2 separate regions of the Homo sapiens genome follow, and region 2 is linked to region 1. The links are contacts of gene promoters, found by promoter capture Hi-C in human tissues and cell types (Jung and others, 2019). All regions are on one chromosome and are shown on one strand. Each heading gives the region's core, a stretch centred on a gene start or on the middle of the fragment in contact. The rest is flanking DNA. Distances are from core to core; before and after follow the strand shown. Region 1 holds the start of CD93 (CD93 molecule). Region 2 has its middle 43 kb from the start of LINC01427.

Evidence for each region. The method cuts DNA at HindIII sites, captures the fragments that hold promoters and counts their contacts. A contact is called where the count stands out against the background at its distance.
Region 2: a fragment that was not itself captured here is called in contact with the fragment with the promoter of CD93 in region 1 in 2 of the 25 tissues and cell types used here (heart right ventricle and thymus).

The regions. Positions count from the first base shown.
Region 1 is chr20:23,084,600-23,087,830 of GRCh38, reverse strand. It overlaps CD93 (CD93 molecule), which reads left to right and starts at 1,507. Exons shown (of 2, transcript NM_012072.4): 1 at 1,507-3,231. The coding sequence starts at 1,639. RefSeq lists an enhancer at 1,344-1,523. The HindIII fragment of the contact is 11,168 bases long and covers 1-3,231 here.
Region 2 is chr20:22,324,475-22,327,781 of GRCh38, reverse strand. No RefSeq gene overlaps it. Among named protein-coding and RNA genes, the nearest start is that of LINC01427, 43 kb to the right of the region's middle. The HindIII fragment of the contact is 4,978 bases long and covers 1-3,307 here.

The DNA.
Region 1 (3,231 bases), core at 258-2,757:
CTCTCCCTTCACCCCCCTCCAGGTGAGTGTTTGTGACCCAGACAGCTCCCCACTTTTTGCTGGCCCCGTGGGGTGCACTGCCCTCTCCCTGGGATCTGTAAGTGACACGGTGCTTGTGTTGCTTCCTGTGTCTTCTTGTGCTGCCTCCTGCATCTCCCCTGACCCACACCCCAACCCAACTCTCCTCCCATCAGGGATCTCTTAGGAAGTGGCTGTCTTGATAGGAATAAACTGGACATGGGTCAGACGAGAGCCACAAGGGTGTCTGTCCATAGAAACAAGTTTTATGTGAGAGAGACCCCTGGTCACTGGGCAGGGCTAGAATTTATAGTCAGTCTCTCAAAGTGAGAGATACAGCCTGCTACCAATGACAGGGGACTTGGAGAGCAGTGGAGCCTCTCCCTCAGCTGAGATGGTGCTGAGGTGTGGTCCCCTCAGGCCCCCAGAGTTTCCTGGCACTGGCTCCAGCAGCCCAGGGTCACCTTCTCAGCAAGTCATCATGGGTTGGCTTCCTCCTTGTCTGTTTCACTTCCCCTCCCACATAAACTAGTCTCCCCAAATCCTGTCTCAGGGTCCCCTCCTGGGGGATCCCAACCAATGAGCAAAGGTCTGTGGCTGCAGGAAAAGCACACTGTGAGTCCCTGGCTTTTGCCGAGTCGCGGTGTCGCGGGAGGGCCTGCCCGGGCTTCGATTCCCGCTCCCTGCCCAGATTTCCGGCCCTTGCTAGGAATCCTGAGCCGGGGGAAGTGAGCCTGCAAGCCCTGCGCCACGAGGCCGGACACATTTTCATTTTCTTTCTGATGCTTTTTGTGACCCTGACACCTCACAATGCAATATTTCCACTATGAAACCCCCAGAACTGCCAAATTTCACCCAATTTGGATTAACATTATCGAGGAGCTTGGCATTATGTTGAAAACCCAGACATTCCCACGACCCGTATCCTATTTAAAAAATGCCTGTCTATTTAAGGTTCACGATGGGAGGATAAAAGAAAAAAGGCTCCCAAAGTCAACAGAGAACATGAGCTAGGCAAAAGGAAAGTCCAGTTTGCTTCTAAAAAAGGCTGAAAATTATAACCATCCATGGCCTTGTGTCTTAAGTCTCAGAATTTTTTTTTTCTCTTTTGGTGGTTTGCAAACCAAAGTGGAATTTTATTATGGGTTACTAAGGGAGCTTCCTCGAGTTCCTAGCCCCCAAAGCCCCTGCTCACTCCATGGCATGCCTCCGAGGCTCCTCATGCCATGAGAAAGAGAATGGAGCCAAAATCAAGCCGGCAGTATCTCGGGGCTGTAACGTCTTCCCCCCGTCGCTGTTTCCACAGTGCTGAGCCAGGGACCCGGCAGAGCTGCCTGACTCCTTTTATGAACAACAGCACCGTGATGAAGGCAGCAGGAGTCAGAGAACTATTCATTGCAGGAAGCCCCAACATCCGGTGAGAAATAAGAAGTACAACAGTACAGGATGCGCCTTGGGTCAGGGGGACGTGGAAAGCCCTCAGCCTTTGTGTCCTTCTCTGCGCCGGAGTGGCTGCAGCTCACCCCTCAGCTCCCCTTGGGGCCCAGCTGGGAGCCGAGATAGAAGCTCCTGTCGCCGCTGGGCTTCTCGCCTCCCGCAGAGGGCCACACAGAGACCGGGATGGCCACCTCCATGGGCCTGCTGCTGCTGCTGCTGCTGCTCCTGACCCAGCCCGGGGCGGGGACGGGAGCTGACACGGAGGCGGTGGTCTGCGTGGGGACCGCCTGCTACACGGCCCACTCGGGCAAGCTGAGCGCTGCCGAGGCCCAGAACCACTGCAACCAGAACGGGGGCAACCTGGCCACTGTGAAGAGCAAGGAGGAGGCCCAGCACGTCCAGCGAGTACTGGCCCAGCTCCTGAGGCGGGAGGCAGCCCTGACGGCGAGGATGAGCAAGTTCTGGATTGGGCTCCAGCGAGAGAAGGGCAAGTGCCTGGACCCTAGTCTGCCGCTGAAGGGCTTCAGCTGGGTGGGCGGGGGGGAGGACACGCCTTACTCTAACTGGCACAAGGAGCTCCGGAACTCGTGCATCTCCAAGCGCTGTGTGTCTCTGCTGCTGGACCTGTCCCAGCCGCTCCTTCCCAGCCGCCTCCCCAAGTGGTCTGAGGGCCCCTGTGGGAGCCCAGGCTCCCCCGGAAGTAACATTGAGGGCTTCGTGTGCAAGTTCAGCTTCAAAGGCATGTGCCGGCCTCTGGCCCTGGGGGGCCCAGGTCAGGTGACCTACACCACCCCCTTCCAGACCACCAGTTCCTCCTTGGAGGCTGTGCCCTTTGCCTCTGCGGCCAATGTAGCCTGTGGGGAAGGTGACAAGGACGAGACTCAGAGTCATTATTTCCTGTGCAAGGAGAAGGCCCCCGATGTGTTCGACTGGGGCAGCTCGGGCCCCCTCTGTGTCAGCCCCAAGTATGGCTGCAACTTCAACAATGGGGGCTGCCACCAGGACTGCTTTGAAGGGGGGGATGGCTCCTTCCTCTGCGGCTGCCGACCAGGATTCCGGCTGCTGGATGACCTGGTGACCTGTGCCTCTCGAAACCCTTGCAGCTCCAGCCCATGTCGTGGGGGGGCCACGTGCGTCCTGGGACCCCATGGGAAAAACTACACGTGCCGCTGCCCCCAAGGGTACCAGCTGGACTCGAGTCAGCTGGACTGTGTGGACGTGGATGAATGCCAGGACTCCCCCTGTGCCCAGGAGTGTGTCAACACCCCTGGGGGCTTCCGCTGCGAATGCTGGGTTGGCTATGAGCCGGGCGGTCCTGGAGAGGGGGCCTGTCAGGATGTGGATGAGTGTGCTCTGGGTCGCTCGCCTTGCGCCCAGGGCTGCACCAACACAGATGGCTCATTTCACTGCTCCTGTGAGGAGGGCTACGTCCTGGCCGGGGAGGACGGGACTCAGTGCCAGGACGTGGATGAGTGTGTGGGCCCGGGGGGCCCCCTCTGCGACAGCTTGTGCTTCAACACACAAGGGTCCTTCCACTGTGGCTGCCTGCCAGGCTGGGTGCTGGCCCCAAATGGGGTCTCTTGCACCATGGGGCCTGTGTCTCTGGGACCACCATCTGGGCCCCCCGATGAGGAGGACAAAGGAGAGAAAGAAGGGAGCACCGTGCCCCGTGCTGCAACAGCCAGTCCCACAAGGGGCCCCGAGGGCACCCCCAAGGCTACACCCACCACAAGTAGACCTTCGCTGTCATCTGACGCCCCCATCACATCTGCCCCA
Region 2 (3,307 bases), core at 429-2,928, 760 kb after region 1:
TCCCAGGCTGGAGTGCAGTGGCATGAATCTCGACTCACTGCAACCTCTGCCTCCCAGGTTCAAGCGATTCACCTGCCTCAGGCTCCCAAGTAGCTGGGACTACGGACACCCACCACGAAGCCTGGCTAATTTTTGTATTTTTAGTAGAGACACGGTTTTCCTGTGTTGGCCGGGCTCCTCGAACTCCTGCCCTCAGGTGGTCCACCCGTCTCGGCCTCCCAAAGTGCTGGGATTACAGGCATGAGCCACCACACCCAGCCTTCATTGACAAAACTTCACTCTTTCACATCCATGCACATGTTCTACATGTTCTATTTTTTTAATTTCTCCCAAAGACCATCACCCATTTCTACTTATTGAAATCTTGTCTGCATTTTAAAGTCCAGTTTAAGTGAACTTCACCCACAAAGTTGACCCAGATCCTCATCTTTCTAAATTTCTTGAGCTCTTAGCTGCAGGTACCCTCAAATCACATCCAGTCCATCTGGTTCCCACCCAGACCAACTGAACCCAGTCTCCCGGGGTAGGCTCTGGAGCCTGCAGGGTAATTCATACACAGGTGATTTCAATGAGCTGCCAGGGTTAGAAACCTCAGGACTAGTCCGTGTCCTCATTTTAGGTATGAAGAGATAGAAGCTCAGAGAGCTGAGGGTTCCATGGCAATAACGGTGGAGGTAGGAATTGAGAGCAGGAGCCTAGTCCACAATTTAGTGCCCTTTCTACCTCGCCTGACATACCAATATCAATGCCAAGTCAGTTACTGCCATCACAATACCAATAGAACTATATCAAAAGCTTACAGAGGCATAGAACATTTAAGGCACTCATGAATTTTGCAAGATCTCAGTAGAATTCAAAATAATAATGACAATGTTATGGCCCAATATGACCTAATACTGGAGATAATATAATATACAATAAGATCAAAGAATTCTAAGAACAGAATGGAACAACCACAAAAAAAGATAAAGCCCAGGAACATCTTCAAGGTAGGCATAATCATCAACCAGCCAGTCTCCATCTTTGATAAGCCAGGGTGGAGATGTAATTATGTGCAGAAGAAAGGATCTGGTCCATGCATAAGTAGAATCAGCCTGGTGGTAGAATGGGTAGAACAGGGCTTCCCTTGAAATGGAGTTATTTATGTTTTCAGTTTATTTATCATGATTTAAATGTAGTCCTGTTGCAAGAAAGAATTCATTTTTTAAAAATAATTTAAGATTCCTTTGACCTCAGGTAAGGGTTTCTTATAGAAAAATACTGCACATTCTGTTTTATTCATATGAAGCAAGTGCAAATTTCCAAAGTGTTTCCAATTTATTTGGGACTTTTTCTGAAAGAAAAGTTAATTGACTGAAGGGCAAGTTGTTGCATGAACCTCTCTGTAGACTCCACTGGGCCACATGGCTTTGCATGTTCCATAGCAGCCAACCAAGCCTGGCTTCTAATATCCATGTAGAGGGGTTAGTTGTCCCCCACACTGTGATATATGAGGAAAGATGAAAATATACATTTACTCAGCTCTTCCTTGTCAGACATTTACATATAAGTGACTTTTGTTCACACACACATTCACTCACTTATCCACCATTAGTTTTATTAAACAATTTTTTTTTGAGAATCTATGATGTAGAAACATTGTGTGAAAATAATACAGGCAAGACCCCCATCCCCACCTTGCTTATAAACTTACACTAGTAATGATTTACCACACCTCTGCTAAGTATTACCAGGAGCAGTGCAGGGTGCCATGGGAGCAGGTAACCAGGAGGCCTGGCCCACTGCAGGGATCAGGGGAAACTGCATGGAGGTGAGGGATTTGCAATAAACTGAAAGATGGACAGAATTAACTGGGTGGAGAGTAGAGTGGGTGCTGTTGGTTTGTAAGAGCACTCCTTAGGAACGGTGATGATGGTCTCTTCAGGAACCCTGCTCCCGCCATCTGGTTTCCCCATGAGAACCATATTTCTATGACCATCTTGACCACTGAGTGATAATCTTAGGAATTCTAGGGGTTAGAAGGGAACTGTTCTCAAATATATACCTCATTTTTCCCATTTATAATCTTGCTATCACAGCTACGCACATCAAGAGACTTCCAGTTTCTTGGATGGAATGCTTTGAATTGATTTACTTGCTTGTGGAAAGGTGGTATAGAGAACAACTTAATATTTCTCAACTAGACAAGATTCCATTTGTTCCAGTCTGTCCTTACATGTTGTATAAATGTAATACTAAATGGCCTGACTTTTAAAGTTTTATGAAGGAGGGGGAAAGTATCACTATGATAGTTAACACCACCTGTTTACTCAGGCATTATATTAACAGGCAACTCTTAGCCTCCGATGAACATGAAGGTATCTGATTAACTTGGGCATTGACCAAACCTCCTAGGACAGATTTGGGAAATTCAGTTGTAGACAACTGGCTTTGAGAATAACTGATTACCTGTAGACCTATTTGGAATAATCTTTCTTGGTGTGATATCCTAAGGATCCAGACAAGACTTGGTAAATTTGGGTGCCATCAAAGTTACAAAATCAATGAATCCAAATTTTGTGAGGCTTATTATAATCTGCCTAATGCTTCCATCCAGTTCCCCCCTGTGGGTAGAGTCCATGAAGCAGAGTCTACTTTATCAATGTTCGCCTGGGCACAAGTGCCAGTGTGGATGTGGGTGACTTTGAGATTTATGTGTCTGTGAGCTGAATAAATGTGGGAAAAGGCAGGAGCAAGGTGTTGAACACAGGGGCCCCCATCACTATTACTTAGGAGTGGGTGCTCTCACAAACGAACACCATCCACTCCACAGCACCACTAAGGCCATACCCGACCAATGCACCAATTTCTGGGGCATCAAGGTTTCAGGTCTTGATGAAAGCTTTAGAATCACCTCTTTTTAATTCAGGTGACTGATGGATTCTCTAGCTTCAAGAGAAGTCCAATTTCCAGTTGGTTAACTTGAGATAGAAAAGTGTGTTATTCTAACCTTACCCCAAGGTCCTGAACACACAAGTCCTTCTTTCTCCTTTCTGAATCATAAATGTGCTCCACACCCTCAATTCTCATATGAGAGATCCATGACTGTGCAGCCACCCATAACATAATCTTGTTCCAAATCCACAGCTGCTTTTGTTCTTGGCAAAACTAAGGCCTGTTTGAGTACGATGTAAGACATAACTGCTCCCTGCGTTCTTTTTGTTTCACTTTGAAGATGTTGGCCTGATAGCAACTCCCACCCCAAGATGCAAATTGGAAATATAAGAAATAAGGCTACTTCATCCACACACCAAAACAAAGAAGGCAA